Regions from separate parts of the Homo sapiens genome. Here all the other regions are linked to region 3. The links are contacts of gene promoters, found by promoter capture Hi-C in blood cells and fetal thymus (Javierre and others, 2016). All regions are on one chromosome and are shown on one strand. The core of a region is centred on a gene start or on the middle of the fragment in contact, and the rest is flanking DNA. Distances in the headings are between cores, read along the strand shown. Region 1 overlaps VPS41 (VPS41 subunit of HOPS complex). Region 2 overlaps VPS41 (VPS41 subunit of HOPS complex). Region 3 holds the start of YAE1-DT (YAE1 divergent transcript). Region 4 overlaps VPS41 (VPS41 subunit of HOPS complex). Region 5 overlaps CDK13 (cyclin dependent kinase 13). Region 6 overlaps VPS41 (VPS41 subunit of HOPS complex). Region 7 overlaps VPS41 (VPS41 subunit of HOPS complex).

What was found. Contacts are between HindIII fragments. The CHiCAGO score rates a contact against its expected background, and 5 or more counts as called.
Region 1: a contact is called between a fragment that was not itself captured here and the fragment with the promoter of YAE1-DT in region 3, in 2 of 17 cell types (total B cells and erythroblasts). The highest score is 5.8, in total B cells.
Region 2: a contact is called between a fragment that was not itself captured here and the fragment with the promoter of YAE1-DT in region 3, in 2 of 17 cell types (M0 macrophages and M1 macrophages). The highest score is 5.3, in M0 macrophages.
Region 4: a contact is called between a fragment that was not itself captured here and the fragment with the promoter of YAE1-DT in region 3, in 4 of 17 cell types (megakaryocytes, fetal thymus, M1 macrophages and 1 more). The highest score is 6.4, in megakaryocytes.
Region 5: a contact is called between a fragment that was not itself captured here and the fragment with the promoter of YAE1-DT in region 3, in 1 of 17 cell types (activated CD4 T cells). The highest score is 5.3, in activated CD4 T cells.
Region 6: a contact is called between a fragment that was not itself captured here and the fragment with the promoter of YAE1-DT in region 3, in 1 of 17 cell types (erythroblasts). The highest score is 5.1, in erythroblasts.
Region 7: a contact is called between a fragment that was not itself captured here and the fragment with the promoter of YAE1-DT in region 3, in 3 of 17 cell types (naive B cells, total B cells and M1 macrophages). The highest score is 5.5, in naive B cells.

Annotation. Positions count from the first base shown.
Region 1 is chr7:38,878,104-38,880,803 of GRCh38, reverse strand. The region is part of intron 2 of VPS41 (VPS41 subunit of HOPS complex); the gene reads left to right. Among named protein-coding and RNA genes, the nearest start is that of VPS41, 30 kb to the left of the region's middle. The HindIII fragment of the contact is 1,385 bases long and covers 674-2,058 here.
Region 2 is chr7:38,744,995-38,747,694 of GRCh38, reverse strand. VPS41 (VPS41 subunit of HOPS complex) reads left to right here. Exons shown (of 29, transcript NM_014396.4): 23 at 2,082-2,136. Among named protein-coding and RNA genes, the nearest start is that of AMPH, 110 kb to the right of the region's middle. The HindIII fragment of the contact is 705 bases long and covers 1,087-1,791 here.
Region 3 is chr7:39,564,959-39,567,658 of GRCh38, reverse strand. YAE1-DT (YAE1 divergent transcript) reads left to right here and starts at 1,310. Exons shown (of 3, transcript NR_187579.1): 1 at 1,310-1,516. It overlaps YAE1 (YAE1 maturation factor of ABCE1), which reads right to left and starts at 1,255. Exons shown (of 3, transcript NM_020192.5): 1 at 1,112-1,255. The coding sequence starts at 1,240. It also overlaps the pseudogene TMX1P1. RefSeq lists an enhancer at 969-1,418. The HindIII fragment of the contact is 5,827 bases long and covers 542-2,700 here.
Region 4 is chr7:38,792,022-38,794,721 of GRCh38, reverse strand. All of the region lies in intron 9 of VPS41 (VPS41 subunit of HOPS complex), which reads left to right. Among named protein-coding and RNA genes, the nearest start is that of VPS41, 120 kb to the left of the region's middle. The HindIII fragment of the contact is 7,889 bases long and covers 1-2,700 here.
Region 5 is chr7:40,078,331-40,081,030 of GRCh38, reverse strand. It overlaps CDK13 (cyclin dependent kinase 13), which reads right to left. Exons shown (of 14, transcript NM_003718.5): 11 at 2,180-2,311. Among named protein-coding and RNA genes, the nearest start is that of MPLKIP, 55 kb to the left of the region's middle. The HindIII fragment of the contact is 1,820 bases long and covers 541-2,360 here.
Region 6 is chr7:38,847,556-38,850,255 of GRCh38, reverse strand. All of the region lies in intron 4 of VPS41 (VPS41 subunit of HOPS complex), which reads left to right. Among named protein-coding and RNA genes, the nearest start is that of VPS41, 60 kb to the left of the region's middle. The HindIII fragment of the contact is 903 bases long and covers 974-1,876 here.
Region 7 is chr7:38,821,231-38,823,930 of GRCh38, reverse strand. It overlaps VPS41 (VPS41 subunit of HOPS complex), which reads left to right. Exons shown (of 29, transcript NM_014396.4): 6 at 2,666-2,700. Among named protein-coding and RNA genes, the nearest start is that of VPS41, 87 kb to the left of the region's middle. The HindIII fragment of the contact is 1,412 bases long and covers 734-2,145 here.

The DNA.
Region 1 (2,700 bases), core at 117-2,616, 690 kb after region 3:
GCATTCCTGTCTCTGCAGGCTCAAGAAATGCTATAACAAATCTAAATAGCACAAAGGTTTCTTTCATCCATGAGCTATTTCAGTTTCAGTGCAGCCGTTTTTAAATACAGAGATTCACAGGCATCCATGTCATCACAGTTCTTTACTTTAGAATATGACTGTTTTCCCCAAAGACCTGAGTAGATTAAATACGTCTCTCAGAATCGCATCAGGGAGGGATGGGAGTGGGGAAACCTCTGAGAGAGCTTAAGGGTTTAGTCTGTTGTCATCATTTCCATCACCAGTGATTGGGCAGTTGTGAGGGATTTGGGCTGTCATGGGCTACTTTTAGTCTTTACAGGCATCCAGGAGAGGTTCTTGGCTAAAATAGGAGAGGGTAGCATTTCCTTTTACATTCCTAATAACAAGATTCACACTTAAATGTGTGTGAAAAAAAATTTTTTTAAATGATGTGGTAAAATAAAAAGTAATGTATCTTCATCTTTTAATAGCTTAAAACAATGAGGTAATTAGATAAGAAGTGTTACTGTTTGGTTTTATGGTCTGGTCATGTGATAGGAAGTAACTTAGAAGGGAGGCCATGAGTTCTGCAGTGTGAAGTTGGGGTTGTAATACACATCATGGCTGTATTTTTAGTATTTCACATTCACTGGGTATTACCAGATACTAAGCTTTGTGCTTTACGTACATTTATTGCATTTAATTCTTACAAAAGTCCTCTGAGGTGCAGGTTATCATTTCCTTTTCACAAAAGGCAAGGTAACCAAGGTTTTAAGTAACTAGTACAGTGTATATGCGCTGCATATGGTAGAAATGGCAAAAGAAAAATTTTAGTTTGTTTTGTGACTGGCTCTTGATTATGAATTTCAGTAGGATTTTGGATAATTTTCTTTCTTTCTTTTTTTTTTTTTTAAAGAAATGACATTAGTGACCTTTATTAAGATACTTGATTGTCCTTACATCTCATACCTATTTCAGCAGGGGTCTCCAACCCACCGGTCCATGTGCGCAGTGGGGGAGTGAGCATTACCGCCTGCGGTCCACCTCCTGTTAGATCAGCCACAGCATTAGATTCTCATACAAGCATGAACCCTACTGTGATCTGTGCATGCGAAGGATCTAGGTTGCACTCCTTATGAGGATCTAATGCCTGATGATCTGAGGTGGAACAATTTCATCCCCAAACCGAGACCATCACCACCACCCTCACCCTGGTGGAAAAATTGTCTTCCACAAAACCAGTCCCTGGTGCCAAAAAGGTTGGGGACCACTGTCTTACAGCAGCTTCTGGATTTTTTTTTTTCTGTTATTTGAATACTTCCTCCAAAAATACGATTCAGTGTGGGAATTTGTGAGGTGACTCTTCTGAGCCTTCATGAAGTGCACTTTGAGTTAATCCACAGAGGAAGCAGCCCCTAACAAGCATCTCTACTTGTTAGGAGGAAGGGAGAAAATGGAGGAGTGAATGCAGCCGGCCAGTCCTCACCCCTGTGAGGCTGGGCTGTTGCTGCCCATTTCTGTAGTGAATGGGGAAGCAAAACCAGGCACCCGGGGGAGAGGTCAACGCTGGATCTACCAGCTTTCCTTGACCCTCATCCTTACTGTTGCCCCTGGCTCCCCACTGTGGGTCGTTTCAGTGCCTCCATAGTTTCTTACTTGGGCATGTTAATTTCTGGAATCCCTCTTTCCTCTCATTTTTAGCATGTCTTCAGGGCTGAGTTGGGGGTAGAAGGCCAGCAGCACAGGTCAGCTCTCTGTCTTGGCAGAAGCCATGTTTTGTTCTTTCTAGTCATACTGTCTTCAAATAAGACCATACCAACTAGGATCAATTTATTACGTTTTCCATTTTCTTGTCTTTTGCCTTGGCTAAAACTTCTAAGTTGGTTTTGAAAAAAGCAGAAGTGATTGTTGGCACCTGTGCGTTGTTTCCTGCTGATGATGGGAATGTTTCTCTTATTTCATTGCTCCATATCATGTTGACTTCTGAATTCAAATGGTCATTCGTGGCTCTTCATTCTTAGCTCTTCGGTAAAGAAACCTTTGTATTTACTGAAAGCTTTTTTAAGATCAGAAACAAGTGTTGAACTTTATAAATGCTGTCTGCAGTGTCTGTCAAGATGGCCCTGCGTTTTCTTTTTCCTCTGACTTATCAAATGACGTCAGATTTCCTAATACTCAGTCTTTGTGTTTTTGCAATATTTGATCTTACATGTTTTTTATTAATATATGCGGGGTTTGATTTATGATATTTAGACTTTCTACATTTAAATTTCTACATGAGATGACAGAATTTTATGTATATTTTTTGTTGTTTTTGGTGTACTGTTTGGGAGTTTTGATATCATGGTTATCAAAATGAATTTGGAAGTTTTTATATTTGCCTCTTATGGGGCAGCTTAAATAAGTTGGGAATTTTCCATTCTTTGAAGGTTTTTAATAGAACTTGCCACTGAAACAGCCTGAGCCATGTACCTTTCTGCATGAGATAGATAGTACTTTAATGGCTTTTATTTTCTCACTGTTTTTTTGTGTGTCTCATATTCAATTTGTCTGTAAAAGGTATTAATGCTTGGACTTACTATTTTTTTTTCTGGTTTATTAATTCATTTTAGCTTTACTTTTGTTAGTTTTCTCTGGTCCCTGCAGTGCCCACCTTCCTGCTATTAGAGGTCCTTTGGTCCTGCACTGCTTAAGGCTGGA
Region 2 (2,700 bases), core at 190-2,689, 820 kb after region 3:
TAAACTTAAATAGACACATAGAGCAAGTGGCTGCTGTCTTGGATAACTCAGGTGAGGCTTCAAACTGCAAACTCTTTTGTGGTTTGAGACTAGCATGTTCTTAAGCATTCTCATGTGCAGAAGAAAATGGGTAATGGTTCTGTCTGAAATCTTGAATGGTATTTTAAAGTGTGTAAGTGAATTTCCAAGTACAGAATTGATTCATGGATACCTTTTAATAATAAATTATTTTAAGCAGCATAAATGCTTATCATTAGTCAGACTATCTTTCTCTAAACATTCTCCTTATTCAGTTGTATTACAGTGTTCTATTTATCTGTGAATGGCAGTCCCACTCAACTATAAACTATCTGTATCTTAACACCCAGAACAAATCTAGGCACTCAGTTGGCTTCTCAGTGGTTTTTTGTTTGAATCCCGTGTCCTCTGATGTATTTGCACTATTTTGCTTTATTATTTAACTTCTTACTTATGTTTTTTGTCTCTGCAGTAGTATCACTGCAGGAGAGTGAAGAGTTGGTAAGAAAGTTTCATCATTTACAATGGTGATTGACAGGCAAGACCATATAGGAATAGGTAAACCATATTTTTAATCAAAATAAAGGAAGATTTTCTCGGTATTAGCTAGGATTAGATTCAACTGTGAGTGATAAAAATCCCAAAATAATTGTGGCTTAACAGAGCAACAGTTTCTTTTTCTGTCACGTGGAAGTGTTGGTGGAGTGGCCCTGCTGAGAGCACCATGCCGCGGGGTCAGAGACCGGGGCTCCTTCCTCTTGTTCGTCCACCTTGGGTGACCTTGACCTCATGACGTAAGGTAGTGCCATCCAATAGTGGAGAGTCAGGGTAAGGGAAGCATTTCAGGCAAGGGGACGCAATGGAGAGGTGAGCAGAGGCAGGTGAAGCTGCACAGAAATTAAGGGCTAGGTTGTGGATGCCTTGTAAGTCGTGGTAGAGATTCTCAGCTTTAAGTCTGAGTGGAGCGATGCAATAGAAAGTTTTGTAGGCAGGGTATGAGATAAGGTTTCCCAGGTGCACTCATTCATCATACTGCACCCGGTTCAGATGCCACTTCCCCTTGAAGCTTCTCACAAGAGGACCACACAGTTTCAGTGTCCCTCCTCTGTACACATGGCCCTTTGTTCATGTTACTCTAATCGTGGAATAATGCGTTGTCACATCTCTGTCACTTCCTGGACCCTGAGCTCCCGGGGGTGGACTCATGCTGCTAATGCTCCTACTAAGCCTCCTCCATTATTCTCTTCTTTGTTTTCCTCTTACCTATAATCATCACTAACATTTTTATTATTGTCATCTTTGCATCTCTATCTAACCTGACCCTCTAGCACCCAGCACAGAGAATATAGTAAATGTATCCTGATTAATTTAGAATTAGTAAGTAATTTATCAATATATAGTAGGTCTTTTTTTTTTTTTTAAGACTAATGGAAATGCTCTCATCTGCATAGTTGCTCCTTTTTGGATCCTTCTTGATCATCAAAAGTGTTTTTTCCTTCTCACCTTTGACAGATCCTTGAGCAGAGTTCTCTTTCAGCCCCTGTGATCTGGCAGTACAAATATTCCTAGTAAATTCAATCATTCATTCGTTCATTCATGCAGCATGAATTCATATTTCCTGAGCTTATGGTATGCACAATACTAGGAAAAGTTCAACCATGAGCAACATTCCTTACATCTTAATGGAGGGAAACAGAGCTTAAACAAATGACTACAGATTTGGAAGGAAGCAGTGCTGTAAGGAAACCTGAAGTAGTGTAAAGAGAGAAAGCTTAGTGGGAAAGGCCCTTTCTTTTCATTTGGTGTCTTGTTTTCTACTCTTGCTCATGAAATGTTCTGAGTAGCTTCAAATATGTTTTAAATTGAATTGTGTAGAGTCCAGTACCTCTGAGAGGTAACTGAGTGCAGCTATTCTAGGGAGATGTGTTCTTTATTTGTTTGCTTTGTTTTATTTTTAAAGAAGCTGTGGAAAAATTCTTTCAAGTGTAAGTTTAAATGACTTTATTACTGTTTGTTCTTATTTGGTCGCCTATAGTAACATTTTTACCCTGCTTTAATTGAAGGCTCTTGAGATCTGTCAACAGAGAAACTTTGTAGAAGAGACAGTTTATCTTCTGAGTAAGTAGCTTTTATTCATTTTGGTCCCCATAAACTAAGAAATGGGATGACAACATGAAGTAAATTGTGTAAGAAAGGACATAGGTTTTAGACCAACGTAACACAGAATATGAGCCTATTTTTACAATAATTTAATATATGAAACAGACTTCACAGCACAGTAAAGAAGGAAGAGTTGTTTCATAAATGTTGAAATAACATATTGGCAATGTATAATCAACATATCAAAATTTATCAGTTTATACCTCACAACATAGATTAAGTTGTAGATGAGTTGACAAGTTTTTTCATTTTCTAAAAAATTATAATCAGCTTATATTACCATCATATTGGTAGAAAATAAATAATCACTTTTAGAAATCACACCCTAAATAACTAGAGGAAATGCAATTGAATACCATAGTTTTGGAGAAGGAGGAGAGCTTTTTAATATAATCTAGGTGTCAGTGTTCCTGGTCTTCTGGCTCCTACCTCCACATGAGTCACAATTTTTGTACCATGCATACCAAGAAACAAAACTTGTCATCTTTTCACATTCTTCCAAAATGAGCCACGTGCATGACA
Region 3 (2,700 bases), core at 61-2,560:
AAATAAACTTTTCTAATCACTTCAAAAGATTAAAAAAACCAAAAAACAAAAAACAAAACCCAGCATTAGCAATGTCTTCACAAAAAGGATATATGGAAAATTACACATCTGGGCTCTTGCCAACTGATTGGAATGGTGTGGGTGGGTGAGGAGACAGGGCAAAGCAGAGAGAGGAAATTGTTTAAAAAAAAAAGGATGATGAGAAGTCTGGTTTCAGAAATTTTGCATAATACCTAAATTCAACTAACCTGCAAAAGCTCTGTGGGTAGTGATTTCGTTCTGCATCTCTCACGGTGCCACAGCATTTAAAAGATGCTCAATACTTATTAGTGTGGCCCCAGTCTCACATAAAGCATTTTTGTAATTGACAACATGGTTTTTGGGCTAAGCAAATACCACTCTACTGAAATATTAAACAGGGCAGATTCCCAACTGCAGCTTTAGCGGCAATTTAATGGTTGGCAAATATATTAAGTGGATGTGGACCTCACTATTTGGTCCTCACCCAGAAATACTGTAGGCTGCACACAGAAATTAAGCTTAGTTTCAATGAATAGTGAGACAAATTAGAGATGAAAAAGTTACATCTAACAAATAAAAAAGAAACCAACTTTAATATTCCCTTACCTAGACACCAGTATTCCACATTAGCTTTCCCTTATTGTCCTCTGACAGCATGCTTTAGTTCATCTTTTCAATATGTCTTGATTAACACTACTCCTTAACTTTAGGCTCCCTACCCATTCAAGCCACCCATATAAACTGCGTACACGTCCTTTGACAGCCATAATAAGTATAGTGTATGTTTCTCTCCAGCTCCTTTCCCTGTGATCCTCAACAAACTGCAAACTGTTCAAAGTCTACACATAGTTAATTTTGGTCGGTCCTCAGTTTCTAACGCATCCCGTAGGCGCTCAAAGAATGCGTCTTGTTGTTTTACACGCTTTCAAGTAACCATCGAGAAATCCTAGCAAGACGCGGGTCGGACCGGGTCCCTAGGGATAAAGAGAGCAGCGCCGGGCCAGGCTGGGGCCACTCTGGACCCAGCTTCTTCACAACTCCGCGCCTCTTCCCACAACCCAGCACCCCGCGCCGTCCACACCACGTTTACTTTGACTCGTCTTTGCATGTTACTCTGCCATTCCCGCTGCGCCAGGAGCGACTCGTCTGCTTCTTCGTCAAACACGTCCCCTTTGTCTCCAGGGCCCTGGATCAAGGAGGCTGCTTGAACCCACGACATCACCGAGGCAATTACGGGGTCGCAGGCCACCGGAAGCGCCAACAACTCCTTCCGGTCCGAAGGCGGGGCGAAGACGGCGAGTGGAGGCTCGGGAGGGGCTGCGTGTGCGCGGAGGCGGGCTGTGGCCCGTGGCCGCCGCCGGAGCCTTTCGCTTGCGGTGATTTTGGGCTCCCTCGGTTGGCAGTGTTGATGTGTGCCTGTGAGTTGTGAGCGAGGCAGATTTCCTCGCGTGGCCGGCACGACCTTCACCTTTGCAGAAGGCAACCGGGACCCTCAGTGAGACACCTTCCATTTCCACCGTAGTCTTACCATGGTCTGGGTTTTACATTCGCGCGCTTTGGTAAACTATTAAAGGTAGTAAAGTCGATGGGCGATTACCACCCAAATACTTTGTCTCTTTTGGAATCTCCTCTGCATTTAAAGGATTTGACAAGCCGACATTTTAAACTGTTAGGATTGTGGAGTAAAGGAAAATAGGATCGAAAAGCGAGGTACTGTAGCCAATTTGAGATTAGTAAGAAATATAGAGTACATTTGTAAAGCCAATATATTTTTTCATTGATTCACGATATCCTTCTGCCTCCCATTCCTGTTCATATGCCCTAAAGTAAACAGTTGGTTTGGTAAGGGTGGGGACTTGTGTCAACACCAGGACAGTTCTGACACATAGTAAATGCTGAACTCTATTTTGGTGAATGAATGAATACCTGTAGTATTCCTGTTTTGCCCTTTGCCTGGGTAAAATGAGTCATGTGATTATGATTTATTTATCTAACAATTTATTGAACACCTACCTTGTGTCAGGTACCATTCCAGGCTTTGGGATACATCAATGAACAGACGGAAGTTCCCAACCCTTGTCGACTTTATAGTCATGTAAAATTGACAGGATAAACAATAAGCAATATATAAGTAGCATAAGGTTTGTTAGAAGATCATAAATAAATGCTATGAAAAAAATTTTTAAATAAGCACAGTAAGAACCATAAGTGTGTGGGAGTGGGTGGTTGGTTCATGTTACAATTTTAAATCTCCAGAGAGAATTTGGCATCCCACAAATAAAAAATATATAAACTACAAATATGTATATTTTATTAATGTAAATATATTAAGATATATGTATATATCTTTATTAGGAACAAAATGGTAGTAAGCAATAAAGATAACAATAAAATAGAAAACCTCAAAACTTGAATAAGTAAGTCCAATTCTTTTTTGTATTATTTGAAAACACCAATAAGATAGATAATCCTGTCATGACCCAGATTTTTAAAGAGAACAAAATTATACAAGAATGAGAAATGAGATAACCACTGATGCAGAAGGAGATTAAAATATTAATTACCAACTAAAACTCAAAAGCAACACATTCGAAAACCTGAGAGATATGAATGACTTTCTAAGAAAATTGACCCAAGAAGTAGGGTCATGAAGAGACTAATTACCATAGAAAAATTGGA
Region 4 (2,700 bases), core at 36-2,535, 770 kb after region 3:
AAGAGCTCAGGCTTTGAGGCCAGACAGACCTGGGATCAAGTCCAGCTTCTCCATTTTCCTTTGGGATCCTCTGTGAGCCTTACTGTCCTCATCTGCAAAGTGGTAGTGCTAATTGTTCTCACATCACAAGTTTTGGGGAGAAATAAATGAGCCAATGCATGTAAAGAGTTTTGCATAGAATCTGATGTAATTGCTTAATAAATGTTAGCTGTCATTATTATATAAAGTTCTAGCAATGTCATGAAGGGGACGTGGCTATTTAAAATGTACTCTTCTCTGGAAAGGGAAAGTGGAAAATTATTAATGTAATGATTGTTATTAGCAAAACAAACATTGTTACACTTCAGGCCCTCCCAGCCCTCATGTTGTTATCATTCAGGTTCTTTTTTCTTCATGTGTTACATGAACACAACCTGATTTATATTTAGGGTAACAGGAAGGAAACTGTGCCTATATCGTAGGATGGAAAAAGGGATTCCCTGGGCTCCCTGTCCCACGTGTGTGGTTACTCATCCAATAAATTTATATTCTTAGTATTTTAAAAATCCCTTAAATGGACCAGGTTGCTTGTTAGTTTTAAAGTTCTGATTTTCTTTTCTTATGGTGAAAGACAAGGAAAATTAGCCTGTAGAAATATGTAACAAGTTTACTCATTACTCCCAGAAATTCTTTCTCTGGTATGCTGAATAATGGCCCCAAGGATAGCAAGCCCTAATTCCTAGAACCTATAAATGTTTCTTTATATGACAAAAAGGTAAATATTACTTTATTTAGCAAAAGATATGATTAAGTTAAGGATCTTGAGATGGGGAATTAACCTACATTATCTGGGTGGGCCCTAAATGCAATCACGTTTATCTTTATGAGAGGGAGGCAGAGGGAGATGCTAACATGGAAGAGAGGAGGAGAAGGCAGTACCACTGTGGAGGCAGAAATTGGAGTGAGGTGGTCAGTGAATGGTGGCAGCCACCAGAAAGCTGGAGGAGACAGCAGATTGTCCCCTAGAGCCTCCAGAGGAAGTACAGCCTTGCCAACACCTTGATTTTAGCCCAGTGAACCCAATTTCAGACTTGTAGCCTGCGGAACTGTAACAGATGTTTAAAACAACATCTCTGTTGTTTTAAACCACCAAGTGTGGCAGTCTGTTATAGCAGCCATGGGAAACATATACCCTTTCTTTATGCCCAAGTTAAGATCCAGCTTCTATACAATTTTTATGTCAAATATTTCATTTTATTGGAGGTTCCTTTTCTTCAAACTCAGTTCTATATGTTGAGCACTTCTCAGTGTAGACTCTTAGTGAGTTCTGTTGAAGGAAGAGGAGATAAGGACGTGGTCTTTCTTCAGAGGGACAGCAATCTTGTTGGGGAGAAGCAACCAGAAACAGTAAAATAAAGTGTGCAATTGGACCTTACCATTTACTTCATTCATTCATTTGCCCAACAAACGTTTACCAGGTGCCTGCAGTGTGCCAGGCAGTGTTCTAGTGTTGCAGAACACAAATATACAAATGAATGAGTTCCTTCCCTTGGGAAATTTATGTTCTAGTGAGGAAGGTGGACAAAAACAAGTAAGTATAGCATGTTGAAGGTGGCAAATAAAAAGGAGAACATTTTAACAGGATAATAGGAAAAGGGATTGGGGTAGGTACCATTTAATATAGGGTGGTCCAGGGATGGCCTGTCCAATAACTAATATGTTGTTTGGTCAGAGATCTGGAGAGAAAAGTTATACAGCTCTATGGGGGCCTGGGGTAGGAGGTGTTAGCAGAAGGAGCAGGAGTGCAAAAATTCTTGAAGCAGGAGTGTGATTGGTGTGCTTTTGAGGAACAGCAAGGAAGCTGTTTGTGTCAGAGTGAGTGGAGCAGATGTGGAGGAGAGGGATGTAAGTGGGGGTCGGGGAGGGTGTGGTGGAGGAGCAGGTGATGTTGGAGCCCAGGGGCCCTTGAGAAGTCTTTGGCTTTTAATTTGACTGAGGTAGGAAGCCAGCACAGGGCTTTGAGCTGTTGTGGAGTCAGTTAAGTGATCTAACTTGTATTTTGGAAGGATCTCTGGTTGCTGTGTGGAGCTAAACGGCAAAGGGGCAGTCAAGAGGGGAGACCAATTAGGCTACCGCAGTCATCTCCATAAAAAATAATGTTGTCTCAGGTCAGTGTAATGCAGCTGGTGAGAAATGACCAGATCCTGGATATATTTTGATGGTAGACTCTGCAGTATTTGTTGACAGTTGGATGTGGGGTGTAAGATCACAGTCACCTAACATACTGGAAGGTGAAACTACCTTTTGCTGAAATGGGAAAGACTGTTGATAAAGCATGTTTAGAGTGAAAAAGGCAAGAGTTGGTTTTAGGTGTGTCTACTTGAGAGATGCCTGTTATCCACCCATGTGGAGAAGTGGAGGAAGCAGATTAGAGTTCATGGGCAAGAACCCACCTATCAGTGGTAAAGGGCTCTTACAGTCATTGATTTGTGCTTATGCAAGACATGAGCTTAAGGTAGCACTTACCTATTCACCCACCTTTACCTGCCACTTCCTACCTATGAGACAGGTGCTGGGTGAGCCCAGACCACAGAGCTGAGGAGTGCAGTAGAGCCATGCCCAGCTACCAGTAGTGCAATGCATCCTTGTTCTCAAGCTGTGGCATGACCAGCGAGATACCAGTCAGGCCTTGGTGTGAATTCCAGCTCTGGCCAGGCAGTC
Region 5 (2,700 bases), core at 201-2,700, 510 kb before region 3:
CTTTGAAAAATTCTTTATCTTAAAAAAAAAAGTCTATAAGAGAAATTATTGGGTCAACTGGGGAAATCTGAATGTGGATTGACCATTAAATATTCTCATGTTAAATTTCATATGCTTTATATGGTATGCATGTAGAATAAAGTCCTAGTTCTTACAGATATGATTACATATTTATAAGTGTCACCTCCACAACATGATATCCAACTAGTTCAGGAAAAAAGTAGACAGTGATAAAGCAAATGTGTCCAACTATTATTAACTGTTGAATCTAGGTAAAGGATATACATGAATACTCTTTGTACTATTCTTCCTATTTTTCTATAGAGTTGAAATTTTTCCAAATCAGAAGTTTAAAAAATGTTATTTGAAGGGGTACTGAGCCCAAGTTTTAAGATTACTGATACACACTAAGAAAAAAGCAAACATGAAACAATAATTCAACAGTGAAAAATTCAGGTCCCTCATGATGTCAGGTAATAGATCCTTTTTGGCTCCCAAATCATCCCATAAAGGCCAACCATGTACAGCTCAATAAAAGCTTACTGAAGCTGAATATGACAGCCTCATAGAAATATAATAAGCACTATCTAACTGATAAGCAGAAGAACCAGGATTTGAACTCCAGAGCCCATGTCTGTTCATTTAAAATATGCTATTTTTATTACATGGAAACATTTTATTATTATAGATAATAGGCTTGCTTTTAATGATGCTCCTTATCATTTTAAAAATTATTAAGAAAAGGCTGGGCGTGGTGGCTCAAATCTGTAATCCTAGCAGTTTAGGAGGCCAAGGTGGGTGGATCACCTGAGGTCAAGAGTTCAAGACCAGCCTGGCCAACATGGTGAAATCCCATCTCTACTAAAAATACAAAAATTAGCCAGATGTGGTGGTGCATGCCTGTAATCCCAGCTACTCGGGAGGCTGAAGCAGGAGAATCACTTGAACCTGAGACGCAGAGGTTGTAGTGAGCTGAGATCGTGCCACTGCACCCCAGCCTGGGAGACAGAGTGAGACTTTGTCTCAAGACAAAAAAATAAAATAAAAATTACTAAGAAAATACCTACAAGGTTTCTAGATCCTGTCAAGGAATGCAAATGAACGTTTTCCTTCCCCCCTACTCCCCAAATCAATCCTAGAGAAATAACAGGAGCCATTTGAAGTTACAGGTTCAAGAGAAGCCAGCTATTTTGACTCCCAAACTCTATATATTTCCCCCATCAGACAATAATTCCTTCTATACAGGCTTCTGATACTAACATTCTTTTCATTCAATGATAAGAAATTTATATTGTATACTATGCTATAAAGTATTTTCAGAACCTCTCTTACTTATTGGACTAATGTGAATTTGAGAGCTGGCTGTACCCTTTACTAGATTTGTATTCTTGGGCAAGTTTCTTAACCTCTCTGAGCCTGCTTCCTCCTCTGTGAAGTGGTGATGATAATAATACTAATACCTACCTTATAAGGTTATAAAGATTAATGTAATAAATGAAAAATGCTTAGCATGGCACTCAAAATTATGGCTATAGCTGTACCAGTAGTAGTGTTAAGTATTTAGTAGAAGTAGTATTAGAATAGCAACAGCAGTAATATTTTTTTTTTTTTGAGACGGAGTCTTGCTCTTGTCACCCAGGCTGGAGTGCAATGCCATGATCTTGGCTCACTGCAACCTCCGCCTCGCGGGTTCAAGCGATTCTCCTGCCTCAGCCTCCCAAGTAGCTGGGATTACAGGCGCCTGCCACCACGTCTGGCTAATTTTTGTAATTTTAGTAGAGACGGGGTTTTGCCATGTTGGCCAGACTGGTCTCAAACTCCTGACCTCATGATCCGCCCACCTCGGCCTCCCAAAGTGCTGGGATTATAGGCGTGAGCCACCGCGCCCGGCAGCAGTAATATTTTCTTAGAGTTGAAATATATTATTAAATCTTGAGGTCAATCAAGCCTAAAATTAGCTAGAAGGCAGCTGTTTTTGCTAGCCCTATGGGTAAACATTAAGCAAGCATCTATATCCCAGATGTGCAAATTATGTGTATTACTGCTGTTTTATCTTTCCTTTATTATATTTTTCTCATAACCAGACATGAAATATCTTATTATATATGTTATTAAAACTGTTTTAATATAATAAATATAATAATAATATATAATAATAATAGGATAAAAAGTCACTTACTCTGGTGGAGGCATTTTTGAGGGTTCCACATCTCGGAGGAACTCGCACTGAAGAGCCTGTTCAGCAGTGCAGCGCTTACTAGGATCCAAGGCAAGCATGTAATCAAATAAGTCTAGCGCAGCTGCAGGAATACTAGCATGAGAGGATTACAAAAGTTAGATGTGTTCTTTAGACACAAGCTTATGTTTCTTTAGGAGCTTAAATTATTTTTAATTAAATTTTAAAACTAAAACTAAGATCATTTAAAAATAATTGTAAATACTTTTTTAATATGTGCATAATACTTTACTTCAATAAATCCGAATTTTCCTTTGAATAAATATTTCATTTTTACATAATTTTTGTAACCACTTTCTAAACAATAGTATATATTGTTACTTATCGGTAATTTGCTGTTATTATACAAATTAAGAACTGAACAGTATAGTTTTTTCTAAAGCAAAATGAAAACTTGAGCTCAAGTAACTTGAAAGCTGTTCCAGTAACATTTAAATGATCTTATTAAAGTTCTTTCACGTAAG
Region 6 (2,700 bases), core at 176-2,675, 720 kb after region 3:
GTAAGACAATATGGTACCATTTTATAACCATCAACTTGGCAAAGCATTTAAAAGTCTGATCAATACCAGATCCTGGTGCTGGGACAGGGAATAGGGAGCTGTCCTCCAGGGTGGAAGGCATAGAAAGTTTGGACACAACTTCTTATTTGAAGAGTGACAAATGTCTGCTAGTCTGTGGGCTTATCTTTCAGTTTCCCATTTATGGTGTTTTAGGTTCAGAAATTTTTTATTTTAATGCAGTAAATATGTATCAGTCTTCTCATTTACAGTTTGTGTGTTTTGTGTCTTCTAAGGGAAAATTGTATTTTGCTTCTACAAAGTTGTAAAGATATGGAAGGGGGGCAAGGAAGTGCTGGGAAGGGAAGGGTGTGTCTCTGGCTAGGGCTCCACCCCTGGGCCTATACCTAAGGACCCAGGTGAGGACAGGAATTCCTGTTTTCCTGCCCAAATGTTGCATTTCCCAAGACCACCCTGTCCTGCCACACCCCATCCTGTGCCTATAAAACCCCTGAGGCCCTAGTGGGCAGAGACACAAGCAGCTGGACGTCCAGAGGAGCACATCAGCAGAAGAACACACAAGCGGGATGTTGAGAGGAGCACATTGGTTGAAGAGCATGCCAGCAGGCACCGGCAGACACCGGCACGCTGGTAGGCCATCAACTGGTAGAACAACACAGAGTTTGGCCTGGGAGGTTGGAGGAGAGGCCGGGCTACTGAGCGGCCAGACTTCAGGAGAAAACTGTCTCCTTTCGGGCTCCCCCATCTGCTGAGAGCTACCACTCAATAAAACCTTGCAGTAATTCTCCAAGCCCAGGTGTGATCTGATTCAAGGCAAGAAACCCTAGGATACAGAAAGCCCTTTGTCCTTGCTATAAAGCAGGGGGTCTGATTGAGCTGACTAACACAAGCCACCTACAGAAGGCTAAACTAAAAGAGCATCCTGTAACACACCCCCACTGGGGCTTCAGAAGCTTAAACATTCACCCCTAGATGCTGCCGTGGGGTCAGGAGCACCACAGCCCACCCATCTGCATGTTCCTCCTAGGGGTTTGAGCAGCAGGGCACCGAAGAAGTGAGCCACACTCCCATCACATGCCCTGTGAAGGAGATGAGGGAACTTTTCCTGTTTCAATATTCTTTGTATGTCCTTCTAAAGTTTTAAAGTTTTGCTTTTTACATTGTCTTCACTTTTCCTCAAGAAAAAAAAATTCTCACTGGACTGTGAGAAGAATTTATTCCTTGATATTGTGACAGATACTGAAGTTCTTACCTTGCCAGAAAAAAAATTACACGAAAATGAGTCCCTTGAACCTACTGATTTCCCATTTTCTTTCCTTAGCTCCTGTCCAGCCCTTGACCCCATTGCATTAGTGGAATCTACTATCCCAGATTGGATGTAGAAAGAGCAGTGGTGATATAATGATTAGAGAAGAAACTCTGGCGGGGCGGTAATGTCCAGCAGAAGGATGGTTGACGGGTTCTGGAGGTGGCAGCACTGCACGCAGGCCAGGCTTGGGGTCAGACGCCAGCCAGCCAGCCCTGCCACACGTTCATTAGTTTGGTGTGTTACCACACTTTCTTCATCTGTAAAGTGTGGATCATAATCACACCTGATTTCAATGATGGTTTTGAGAATTATATGAACGAATACATGTAAAATATGTAACATAAGGCTTAGTAAACATTAGTCGTTATCAGAAGGTGGATCAAGCTAAGAGTCCAACTGAACATGTTTACTACACTTCCTGAAGAACTATTATTTTTGAATTTATTCATATGTTTGGCTTTAATAATGTTCAATTGTATATGGGGTAGGCAAACTGAAAGGGAGGTAGGGAAGAAAGAAAGAAAAACGAAGGGGAAAAAAAGAGAAGCTTCTGCGACACACCCATTCTTACACCCATTTTGCTGCCTCCCTATCCCTCAGCTCCTGTGTTTATTTGGGAGGAGTGGGTATCTTTTATCACATTACACAAATAGTATTTTAAGAACATTATTAAGCTTGAGTAATTAGGTGTGTGAAGTCGATCCCAGTGCAGGTCTAGTGAGTTGACTTCAGAAATGTCTTTTCGATGTAGCAACATTGCAACATGGCTTGTAAGATGCTTCTTTTGAAAAGTTTTGAGAGACTGCTTGGAAAATGATTTAATGGGGATTGATAAAGCAGTGTTTTTACACTGGAGAGCATTATAACAATAATTTCTGTGGTGGAAGTAGAGTCAAATTTGTGAAGTGTTAAGTAGTCTTTCTTCGTCATATGTTGGAAAAATAAATTAGGCATTTTCTCTTTGGTTAATAACTTGGTCTCAGTTATTTAAATTATTTGTACTACCCACCCTTTTTAGGTAAGTGACTTTACTAATGTGGAAAACAAGGGCTTTACTCTCTCAAATGTTTAGATTTTAGATAAATAGAATGCATTAGCATTGCTGCAGCTATCATTAAATCAAAAATAAAAGTGAGAAAAATAAGAACACACCTTTACTCCTAACAGATTTTTCCTTTATCATTGATGGTATCATTTACTTGTATATTGAGAACTTAAACAGGGATATTTATGGGCCCTGCTGAGATGTTCAGAAAGCTCTGCAGCCTTCATGGGTCTGCTATATGTTTGGCTTTCTTTAGCTGCTTTTATTAGTGGAGTTTGTTCTCAAAGGTGTGGCATAGCAGATCCTTAGGATTAGGGTAGCCTAAGGA
Region 7 (2,700 bases), core at 190-2,689, 740 kb after region 3:
TTTTATAAGATGTTTGTTATATTATCCTATGCCTATATATTTCCATAAAAGTAATGACTTTATACCCTCTGAACAATGAGCAGCAGGTGATGGGGGGGACATATGTGTATTTGCCATGTGAAGAATACATTTCAAGGCCAGCCTCAGGAAAAATGAAATTCCTTCTGTTTTACATTATATTATCTCCTGTTTGTAGAACCCAAATAACAAACTTGGCACAAGTATATAAAAACAGTAGTTACAAAATGAGTGGATGGTCCCCAAAACTTTAACTTTTAATGCATGAATCTATTTCCCAAAATTATAACATAAGTGAATTTCCTGCTTGGGGCTTGAAAGAATGAACCACTCAGAACTTACCAAGATTAAAATAAGAAGAAATTGAAAGTTTAAGTAGTCCTATATTTATTTTTCAAATAGAATTTATAATTGGAAACCTTTTCACAAAGAAACTATCTTAGTCCATTTGTGTTGCCATAACAAAATACCTTAGACTGGGTAGTTTATAAATAACAGAAATTTATTTCTCACAGTTCTGAAGGCTGGGAAGTCTGATTTCAAGGTGCCAGCATTTGGCATCTGGTGAGGGCTGCTCTCCTTGCTTCCAAGATGGCGCCTTGTTATTGTAACTTCACATGGCAGAAGGGATGAATTATGTGTCCCTGTGTGGCAGAAGGCAGAAGAGCAAAAGGACTAGCTAGTCACCTCAAGCTATAGCTAGTTACCCCAAGCTTTCTTATAAGGGCACCAATCTCACCTATGAGGGCTCCACCTTCATAATTTAATCACTCACTAAAGGCCCTACTTCTTAATACCATCACCTTGGAGGTTAGGTTTCAACACAGTGAATTTGGGGAGAACACATACATTCAGACCATAGCAAAGCCATGAGACCTAGATGGCTTCACCAGTGAATTCCTACAAAAGTTAAAGAAGAATAATACCACTATACTAGAGACTAGAAAGACAGTGAACACATTCCAATGTTGGGAAATAGTTCTCATTGGCTCTAGTACTATTTGTTAGCTCCAAGCATTTGAGATCTCATGGAATTCTTATGCTGAGAGTATAAATAACCATCACTTTGGAGGTTAGGTTTCAACGTAATGAATTTGGGGGAACACAAACATTCAAACTTTCTCATGGTGAGAGCATAATTAATTTGAAACCACTTTGTGAAATGGTTTGCCTATTAAATGTGAACATGCACATAACCTATGACTCAGCAATTCCATTCCAAGGTATACACCCTTCATGAATATGTATATAAGTCCACCAAAAGATTTGCAAAGCATGTTCTTAGCAGCAGTATTCATGATAGCCCCAATCTGGAAACAACCTAAGTGGTCATCAATGGAAGATGGATATGTGAATTGTGATATATTCATACATGAAATAATACCCAGCAGTGGCAAAGAAGCAACCTCTACTATATCCAACAGTGTGGCTAAATCTCACAAAGAAAATGTTAAATAATGAATGAAATAAATCAGTGAAATAGAATATGATTCCTTACTTACAAAATTCTAACACCAGCACAACTTATCCATGCCAGTAGCTTTGAGGGTAGTGATTAGTTGGAGGGTGTTATTTACTGGAAAGGGAAACAAAGGAGCTTATTGGCTTCTATTTCTTGATCAGAGTGATGGTTACACGGATATGTTCGTGTCATAAAAATTCATCAAACTATAAATTTATGATTTGTATTTTTTATAGCATGTGTTTTATATTTCAGTTTTGTTTTTGTTTTGTTGTTGTTAAGTAAAGCACTCAGAAAATATACTAAGTATGAATAAAGTAGCCTGGAACAACTTTAAGGGAGACACTGATAAGCAGGAACTTAAATCTTTCATTTCTGTATTCTCAGTAGATTTAGCATAAGTTGTGAGTGAAGTGTGGTTCACCTAATCTCTTACCACACTGATCTACATGGTTGGTTTATTTTATATATATGAGAGACACTAAAAAAAAATCTCCCCTTTCCTTTAAGGGATGAAAAAATAGTTCCTTTAGGGACAGCTTATGGAAGTTTATAAAAGAATAGTAATAACTTGTTCAAATCTGTTTCATTGTTTTAATGGCATGCATTTAATACAATTTGTGGTGATTGAAGGGAACTCTATCCATGGAATGCTTATGAAAGCTTAATTGCAGCAAAGTACCCTCAACCTGATGGGATTTTCTTTTTTCTTTTTTCTTTTTCTTTTTCTTTTTTTTTTTTTTTGAGACGGAGTCTCACTCTGTCACCCATGCTGGAGTGCAGTGGCGCAATCTCGGCTCTCTGCAACCTCTGCCTCCCAGGTTCAAGCAATTCTCCTATCATCCTCCTGAGTAGCTGGGACTACAGATGCACGCCACCATGCCTGGCTAATTTTCATATTTTTAGTAGAGATGGGGTTTCACCATATTGGTCAGGGTGGTCTTCAACTCCTGACCTTAGGTGATCCACCCACCTCGGCCTCTGCCTCTCAAAGTGCTGGGATTACAGGCGTGAGCCACCGTACGTGGCTGATGGGATTGTTTTCATTAGATATTTAATAGAGGTCACGGGGCCTTAAAATTATTAAATATTCTACTTTTCTTATTGATAGTATGTGTTCATACTGACTCAGTAGCCTTCTCTATTGCTGTCATGGTGAGCTGATACAATCCATTTTCTTTGTAGGTGCAGGTATTTGGACTGTATTCTGGAGAAGAATT